2 separate regions of the Homo sapiens genome follow, and region 2 is linked to region 1. The links are contacts of gene promoters, found by promoter capture Hi-C in blood cells and fetal thymus (Javierre and others, 2016). All regions are on one chromosome and are shown on one strand. Each heading gives the region's core, a stretch centred on a gene start or on the middle of the fragment in contact. The rest is flanking DNA. Distances are from core to core; before and after follow the strand shown. Region 1 holds the start of LINC00324 (long intergenic non-protein coding RNA 324). Region 2 holds the start of ALOXE3 (arachidonate epidermal lipoxygenase 3).

The links. The method cuts DNA at HindIII sites, captures the fragments that hold promoters and counts their contacts. A CHiCAGO score of 5 or more calls a contact.
Region 2: a contact is called between the fragment with the promoter of ALOXE3 here and the fragment with the promoter of LINC00324 in region 1, in 14 of 17 cell types (non-activated CD4 T cells, naive CD8 T cells, fetal thymus and 11 more). The highest score is 14.0, in non-activated CD4 T cells.

Annotation. Positions count from the first base shown.
Region 1 is chr17:8,222,622-8,226,800 of GRCh38, reverse strand. LINC00324 (long intergenic non-protein coding RNA 324) reads left to right here and starts at 2,758. Exons shown (of 3, transcript NR_026951.1): 1 at 2,758-2,989; 2 at 3,527-4,179. It overlaps CTC1 (CST telomere replication complex component 1), which reads left to right. Exons shown (of 23, transcript NM_025099.6): 23 at 1-1,986. TRP-CGG1-3 (tRNA-Pro (anticodon CGG) 1-3) reads left to right here and starts at 3,897; the gene lies at 3,897-3,968. TRT-AGT1-2 (tRNA-Thr (anticodon AGT) 1-2) reads left to right here and starts at 493; the gene lies at 493-566. It also overlaps TRS-AGA2-6. RefSeq lists enhancers at 2,975-3,214, 3,465-3,594, 3,141-3,882 and a silencer at 3,945-3,994. The HindIII fragment of the contact is 13,535 bases long and covers 1-4,179 here.
Region 2 is chr17:8,115,515-8,119,776 of GRCh38, reverse strand. ALOXE3 (arachidonate epidermal lipoxygenase 3) reads left to right here and starts at 1,263. Exons shown (of 16, transcript NM_021628.3): 1 at 1,263-1,291; 2 at 1,474-1,933; 3 at 2,797-3,001; 4 at 4,089-4,170. The coding sequence starts at 1,787. TRK-TTT3-5 (tRNA-Lys (anticodon TTT) 3-5) reads right to left here and starts at 622; the gene lies at 550-622. TRQ-CTG1-5 (tRNA-Gln (anticodon CTG) 1-5) reads right to left here and starts at 25; the gene lies at 1-25. RefSeq lists a silencer at 127-176 and enhancers at 697-796, 947-1,016, 1,097-1,176, 898-2,097. The HindIII fragment of the contact is 2,695 bases long and covers 1-2,645 here.

The DNA.
Region 1 (4,179 bases), core at 1,509-4,008:
ACGTGCAACCGCCGCGTCTTTTTTTCCCTGAAGCGCTTTCATGGAGGCAGATGTTTGTCAGTCAAGGGAAGTAAGAAAGGCATTGGATGAAAACGAAGCCCTAAGCCTCGTAGTCGTGGCCGAGTGGTTAAGGCGATGGACTAGAAATCCATTGGGGTCTCCCCGCGCAGGTTCGAATCCTGCCGACTACGTCATATTTTTTTCTTCAGCATACTGACCATATTTCTCTCCAGGATGGGATGATCCAGTCGGCACCCTCCAAACCTCTCATCTAGGAACTCTAGAATCGAGAATTTGATTTAGAGTCTATGATTTTGGTTTGAAATCTATGATTAACGTCTTTGGACATTGAAGGAAATCCGAGGAATGGACAAGTGATGCAAGAGCCAGTTGAGTTACCAAATTAGTTCTAGAAAGATCTGAAAAAGCTCGGTCCGGGTTCCTAGCTCTATATTCTTGTAGATGAATTTCAGGAACCTTTATGGCAGCTTCGGCGCCGTGGCTTAGTTGGTTAAAGCGCCTGTCTAGTAAACAGGAGATCCTGGGTTCGAATCCCAGCGGTGCCTTTATTCAATTGAAACAGCGTGATTTTGCGGCTAAATCCACATCCTTTCATGTATTGTTTTTATATCAGAACGCGTAAGAGTTTCTGTTCTGCACTCATAGCACCCACATTTCCTGCAGAGTCAAGCTGCCACTCCCATGAGATCGCCACTCTAAAAGGTGGTTCTCTAACTTAGGGGCAGAAATGTTGCATAGGCCTAAGGGTCCTTTGCTTAACTGATGCCACACCCCACTGGTGCAGGTGGACTGGGTCAGGCGGCCGCCCCACCCTCGATGGAAGGGGCTGCCCACCTTCCAGGCCTCTTTCTCCACCCTAGGACGTCCCCTAGAACCTGAGCCACTTTGTTTTGTTTGGCTCTTCATTATAGTTCTTTGGGTTTGGTGGCTCATAATGTTATATATATAGTATATAATATAAAAATATATATTTAAATATACAGTATTTAAAATTTGGCACAGCTTCCAGATGCGGTCCTCTAACTGGTCTTTCACTTGCAGTTACCTCCATCCCTCTCCACCAGCGGGATGTCAGGGTAAGGAGTAAGCAGGGATCCGGCTGGCCTGGCCTGGCCTGGCACCAGGTTTCGTGCAGCAGGGTGCAGAAGGGCTGAGGCCATGTGAACAGAGTCCAAGAAAGCATCATTCGGGAGTCGCTAGGGATCCTGGTGTGGAAGGGCAGGGCACTTTTCTGGAGCACTGAAGCTAGGCTGGTTAAGGAAGAAATAAATGCCAGAGATAAGGCAAGAAATAGGATCTGTGAGCTCTTGGCAGGACCTAAACCTCCTTGGAAGATAGGCAGAAAGCTCTCGACACCATTCCATGGCCCACGAACCAATGTAAGATGAGCAAATGGCTTGAAGGAATTGCTACCTCCAGGTCAAGCCAGGGATGCAGCACTGCCGAGACCACGTTTGTGCCAAGCACTGGGCTGGACCCTGTGCAGAACCAAATGAACAAGGCACGTTCCCCTTTCAGCACTAACGGCACTGTAAGAACAGGGAGAAGTGGAATCTAATCTGGCCTGAGGGTAGAGGGTGATCAGCTAAGTCTGAAACACCATGTAGAAACTTGCCATGTATGGCCGGGCGCGGTGGCTCACGCCTGTAATCCCAGCGCTTTGGGAGGCCAAGGTGGGCGGATCACGAGGTCAGGAGTTCCAGACCAGCAGCCTGGCCAACATAGTGAAACCTGGTAACATAGTGAAACCTCGTCTCTACTAAAAATGCAAAAAATTAGCCAGGCGTGGTGGCAGGCGCCTGCAGTCCTAGCTACTTGGGAGGCTGAGGCAAGAGAATCGCTTCAACCTTGGAGGGGGGAGGAGGTGTTGTCAGCCGAGATCGCGCCACTGCATCCCAGCCTGGGCAACAAGAGTGAAACTCCGTCTCAAAAAAATGAAATAAAATAAACGAATGATCAGCTGTTTGTTAGTTCTTGGTTATTAAAAGTGGGGTCTATGTACGCACTTTTCTGAGGAAAAAATAAAGTGTGGGGTATGTGGATGGGATTATGTGTGAACTCCCTGGATTGTATACATGTTTAGGAAGAGGGCCATAGCTTTTTTTTTTTTTTTTTTTTTTTGAGACGGAGGGAGTCTCATTCTGTCACCCAGGCTGGAGTGCAATGGCACAATATTGACTCACTGCAACCTCCGCTTCCCGGGTTCAAGCAATTCTCCTGCCTCAGTCTCCCGAGTAGCTGGGATTACAGGCGCCCGCCACCACGCCTGGCTAATTTTTGTATATTTAGTAGAGACGGGGTTTCACCATTTTGGTCAGGCTGGTCTTGAACTCCTGACCTTGTGATCCACCCACCTCAGCCTCCCAAAGTGCTGGGATTACAGGTGTGAGCCACTGTGCCCGGTGAAGAGGGACATAGCTTTCATAAGGGTCATAAAGGATTTAGGCCTCCCCTTCTGCAGCGTTTAAGTGCCTGAGGCCAGGGAAGAGGTGACTGGATTATTTTGCAGAGAAAGCTGGGGCCCAAGGGGAGGGAGACAGGAATTGGAAAAGGGTAGGAATGGGGGAGGAGATGCCAGATCAGCCCTGAGAACCTCTTTACCCATCTCAAAGACTTGGGACACTAATGGGAAAGGCTGGGCTAACTTCTGCTGCCCTTCCCCACTGTCTGTCCAGGGGAACCTGGGAAAGACAAATAGGAGCTGAATCCTTCACTGAAAGCCCCGTCATCGTATCTATGGGTTGGGCATTAGGAACGGCCTGGCCCCACAAATCACACAACTGGGGTGTAGAACAAAATGGTTCCACAGATGACACCAGGCTGGTCCAGGGCCGATGCAGGCCAGAACCCCGCTGGGAGGACTCCCCAGAACAGGCACTGAGCTGAGGAAAGGCAGGACACGTGGTCTGCTACCGACCCCACCAGATCTTGCTGGGACTCTGGGCAGCTCCGGAGTAAGAGCAGCATGGTGAGTGTTTAAGAGCGCAGAGGCTCACTGGGCAGTCCCGGGGACACTGCTAAGTCCCCAAACCGGGTCTACAGGCCTTCGACCACATTCATGCGGCCACGTGCCTCAGAGCCTTCGGGGGGTCTTAGGAGGCAGGCAGGAGGGTCTCCCTTCTAGGCCATTCTAGGAGGGGACTGGGGAGCAGAGGTTAGACTGTAGGGTAGGGGTAACCTGATCTTACAGTCCGGAAGCCATGAGACTAGTCGCCTGGCCTTGCGCCCCGCCCCACTGCAGGGTGGAAAGCCTGTCCCCCTCCAGTCACCCAGCTCAATAACGCCCTCTTCCGTGGGTCTTCTGGGCCCCAGAAATCGTTCCCTCTTTCCCTCGCTTGGGTACTGCCATGCGGTCTGGGGAACCCGTGGACTATCGATGGGTCTGGCCCAGGGTTTGCCCTGCCCGTTAGCCCAGGAGGATAGACAGACACGGGGCACTGGTGTTCCCCTAGTGATTTCTCCTGCCCGTCCCGAAAGCAAGCAATTCCACCGCTTCTCTTCAAAGCTCTGCAACGAAGAGCTAGGTCCAAGGACCGCAGGCGGAGGCAGGAAGTGTCAAGATCCCAGGTTACGGAATGGCACCAAGTCGGTAACCAAAGGAAGCAACAACCCGGGTGTTCAAGGCAGTCGTGCAAGGCGGCGCGGGGGCGAGGCCGAGGCCACTCCCTCCCACTTCCTTGACGCTATTTCCTGGGAGGAGCCGGAGCTCGCGGCCCGGAGCCAAGAGATTCCCAGCCCAGTGCTCCAAAATACTCGGCCTGGGGGAGGCTGGTCCGTGAGCGTGCGCCCGGACCGTTCCGCCATGCATAGTGGACCCAGCACTACAGCAAGCCTGGCACGACCTCTAAGGCGGTTCGCGGCAACGTCCGCACGTCGGCTCGTTGGTCTAGGGGTATGATTCTCGCTTCGGGTGCGAGAGGTCCCGGGTTCAAATCCCGGACGAGCCCTCCTTTACCTTTTACTGAGACAAGAGTGTCTTCAAGGAATAGGTTACCTGACCAGCGCTGCAGGAGGCTTGACTGTAAGTCATCAATGTACAGTAAGCTCTTTTGTGGCACCGCGGTAGCAGAAAGCATCTCAATCCCCAGACCCGCCTGGCATGTCAGGAAGAGACGAGGCACGCCCAGACTTGGGCAGGTCCCTCCCTTTCTGCTTCCT
Region 2 (4,262 bases), core at 14-2,513, 110 kb after region 1:
GTGCTAACCATTACACCATGGAACCTCCCTCGTGGTGTCTTTCAAGATTGTGTACATTACTGGACATTCTATTTTGCGTGTCTTCCACACCCGTCACTTAAAACGAAAACAAAACAAAGTCTGCTGTTGGATATGGTAGACACCGTTATCGAGCACTTGAAATATATGAATTCAGATGTATTGCCAGCTTCTAAATACACATCTTCTTTTGAAGGAAGGCTTTGTACAAACAAAAAGACTTAAAATTTCATTAATATTTTTAGAATGTTGATTATATGTTAAAATAAGATTTTGGTATATTAGGGTAAGTAAAATAGATCCGTGAAATTAATTTCGCTTGCTTTTTATTCTTTGTAATGTGGCTACCAGAAAATGTAAATTCGATAATACGGCTCGCGTTTGTACTGTTTTAAAGTATGTTTATTACCCTCCACCGTCGTTTGCTGTATTTTGTGGAAATCAAGTTTCTGTATCACCTAGCTTTAAAAACTAGTAACTATTTTTGTTACCATTTTATGCGAAGTGCGGTACCCAAAAGCAAAGACATGCCGCCCGAACAGGGACTTGAACCCTGGACCCTCAGATTAAAAGTCTGATGCTCTACCGACTGAGCTATCCGGGCTCTTCACGAGAGCTTTACTTTTTGCTTATAAGAGGGTTCTCTATAGGAAAAGCCAGGCTTGTAGAACCGACAGAGGATTTTATCTGTGCAGCATAGAATATTTTGGCACAGATTTGGAAGCAGCGGGTGAAGCTCGCCTGCTGCTGATTGAGCTTTTTCTGCCTCCCGTTCTTAGAGCCCCCGCCGAGGCTGCGACGCAGGGACTGTACCATAGTAGAGGCTGGAACAGTGCGGCGCCGGAACCGGCCGCGCGGGGCCGCTGCGGGCTATGGGCTTCTCTGAGAGGTTCCTCCCCAGTCCCTAGTGGCCCAGATCCCGGACACCTGGGCTCCCGCCCAGGATCCTGCAGGCCCAGGGCGGTCCTGGAGCGGAAAGAATGCCACGCGGGGCATTCAGACCCTGTTTGCCGGCGCTGTATTTCGCTTTCCTGACCTGCCCTACTCCAGAGCAGAGAATGAGGTCGGGCGTGCCAAAGGCTGGGGACAAAGAGGGCCATGCGTGGGGGGATCGGTGTATGGGGTGACAGGGAGCTGTTCCTGACCATTTGACATGTGCTGGAATGCGTGTGCGACTCACCTGCGTGTGGCTGCAGTCACGTGTGATTTATGACCAAGTGCAACTCTCCACTGTTTAGTGATTCACACGGATGATTCACACGTAGGAATGCAGGTGCCCTGTGCTCATCTCTGCCTGGGAATGGGGAGGAACAGATCTTGGGGGACATTGGGGAGTGGGCGGACAAGCACTCCAGGGCATCAGTCCGGGCCGCTGACCAGGCGGAGGGCAGTGTCCCAATTATACAGGCGTTACCTCCTTTTCTCCATCTCAGCATCTGATCCCTCCCTCCGCAGTGGAACCCAGGCTCCTGATATCCATCTGGGTGAGCCAGCCAGAGGGACCGGCTGTGTCAGAGGCAAGCAAACAAGTATTAGAGTGCAAGACTGTGGGCGGAGAGAGGAAGCCCGAGCCGCCAGCAGGGAGCTTCGGAGAGAGAAAGCCCAGGAACATCCCAGAGAGAGCTGGGCCCATCCTCAGCCCTACCCAGCCCCGCAGCCCCTAGCCCTCCGCCCAGAAACCCAGCCCTGTCCGGCGTGCCGCTCTTCTCCTCCAGGCCGGCTGCTGCTGCGGCCAGCGTTGCCGGGGCATCCCTTCCTCCTTCCCATCATGGCAGTGTACCGCCTGTGTGTGACCACTGGTCCCTACCTGAGGGCCGGCACACTGGACAACATCTCTGTCACACTGGTGGGCACGTGTGGTGAAAGCCCCAAGCAGCGGCTAGATCGAATGGGCAGGGACTTCGCCCCTGGATCGGTGAGTACAAAGGAGACAGGGAAGCGCGACCTCAGAGGGGCAGGGGCCGCAGGCGGGAGGAGTATTCCTCCTGGACTCTTGAGATCCTGCTGAACTCAGGATACCGGCCCTGACCTCCTCACCTTCCCTATTGAGGTCCCTGTCTTTCCTGGAGATGATGAACTCCATCCAGGCAGGACTGTGGAGAGGAAGGAGCGTTGGACAGGGAGTAGAGGGACTTCCCCTGGCTCCTAAACTCCTCCCATAATTGACCGTGGGCTTTGGGCAAGTCGCTTCCCCTCTCTGAGCCTGGGTTTCCTCTTATCGAGGGGATCTGCCTGCCTCTGCCAGCCCCAGGTGGCCTCCACAAGAGTTCCCAGCCGGCCTAGGAAGCTAGTGAAATGCAGTGCCCACTGTGCTCGGGCACCTTTTTCTTTTCTTTTTGAGATGGAGTTTTGCTCTTGTTGCCCAGGCTGGAGGGCAGTGGTGTGATCTCAGGTCACTGCAACCTCCACCTCCCGGGTTTAAGCGATTCTCCTGCCTCAGCCTCCCAAGTAGCTGGGATTACAGGCGCCTGCCACGACGCCCGACTAATTTTTTGTATTTTTAGTAGAGAAGCGGTTTCATCGGGCAGGCTGGTCTCAAACTCCTGACCTCAGGTGATCCACCCGCCTCGGCCTCCCAAAGTGTTAGGATTACAGGCGTGAGCCACCTCTCCCGGCCCGGGGAAGCTTTTTCTAATTCATACAAAAGCCCGGTATGGGCTGGGAGCAGCTCAGGTTTGTATGCCCGAATAGGCTTAGGTGTAGATGCATCTTGCAAGGCGCAAGGACCGCCTTGGCAGTTCCCCGCCTCTCACCTGCTTGCTGTCTTGGTCCCCTCAGGTACAGAAGTACAAGGTGCGTTGCACAGCGGAGCTGGGTGAGCTCTTGCTGCTGCGTGTACACAAGGAGCGCTACGCTTTCTTCCGCAAGGACTCTTGGTACTGTAGCCGCATCTGTGTCACCGAACCGGATGGTAGTGTATCCCACTTCCCCTGCTATCAGTGGATTGAAGGCTACTGCACCGTGGAGCTGAGGCCAGGAACAGGTGGGCCAGAGACGAGGACTACACTGTACTGCAGAAGGTGTCCTTTGGGATTAGGAGTGGGGTCTCACAGAGCCCCAGAGTATAGGGAATAAGATTGAGGTCAGAAACTCTGGGCTCCCAAGTAGATGTTTTCTGAAAAAAGGGAGCCTCTCAAGCCCTGAAATGCGAGGGTTTTGCAGACGGTATTGACTCTTCTGGAGACTCACATAGACACATACACTCATATAGGCAGGCACCCTTCTCTCATACACATAGGAAGCACTTTGCTTTCCACAGCCTCCCTCTGCACTTCTCCAGAGTGAGTTCCTCCAGACCCCAGAGAGGAACTAACCTGCACCCTGAGTCATTAGATTTTAACAGGTAGAGAAGCCCTGGCTGCTCAGAGATTTTAGCTGGAGAGGCCCCATTCCCTCCCCTACTACTAGCTTTTCTAGTGTGGATGAGGTCCCTGAGAGGTGCTGCTAGGATTCCTTGTTGAATTTCTGGGGCCTTCTGCAGATGCTGGGCTTGAGCATCTTCAGTTTCCAGAGCTATCTGATCTGGAGAGGCAACAGTAGGGCTGCTCTGGGTGTTGGGAGGAGGCTCAGGATGAAGGAGGGATATTCTAGGTCAAAGTGAGGCAAATGAATATTACCCCATGGTCCGTAATAAGTTTTCCATAGACCTCACTATAAACTCTCATCCATCTCCACAGCACATCCATCCATAGCTTCACAAAATATATTTGTTCATCAGTCATTTAAAGTGCATCTTATACACATGGTGCCAGGCACCATGCTAGAAGCCGGGAATACAGAAGAAGAAAAAGAAGAAAAAGGAATACAAGACGACTTCTGCCCTCAGGGAGTTTATAGTCTGGAGGGGAGATAAACATGCCAACAATTGGGAAGATTGCTATAATTTGGGGGTGAAGCTGTCTTGAATCCCTTCTACTGATGAATACACAAAGAACGTGGGGGCACCGCCACGTGTTTCACAGGGATGTGGCTGTCGGATTGGGTTCAAGGGTCAGGGGGTTCAGGCAAGGTTTGCAGAAGATGTTGTTGGAAAAGAGACTTATACCAAGAGTAATTTTCATTCCCCACAGCAAGAACTATTTGTCAGGACTCTCTTCCCCTCCTCCTGGATCACAGGACACGGGAGCTCCGGGCCCGACAAGAATGCTACCGGTGAGGGTGGCCTAATTTGACTTCTTTCCCCATCTTTATCCTGACCTCAGTCTTAATCAGATTGTTCCTAACTCTAACCTCATTCTCAACCT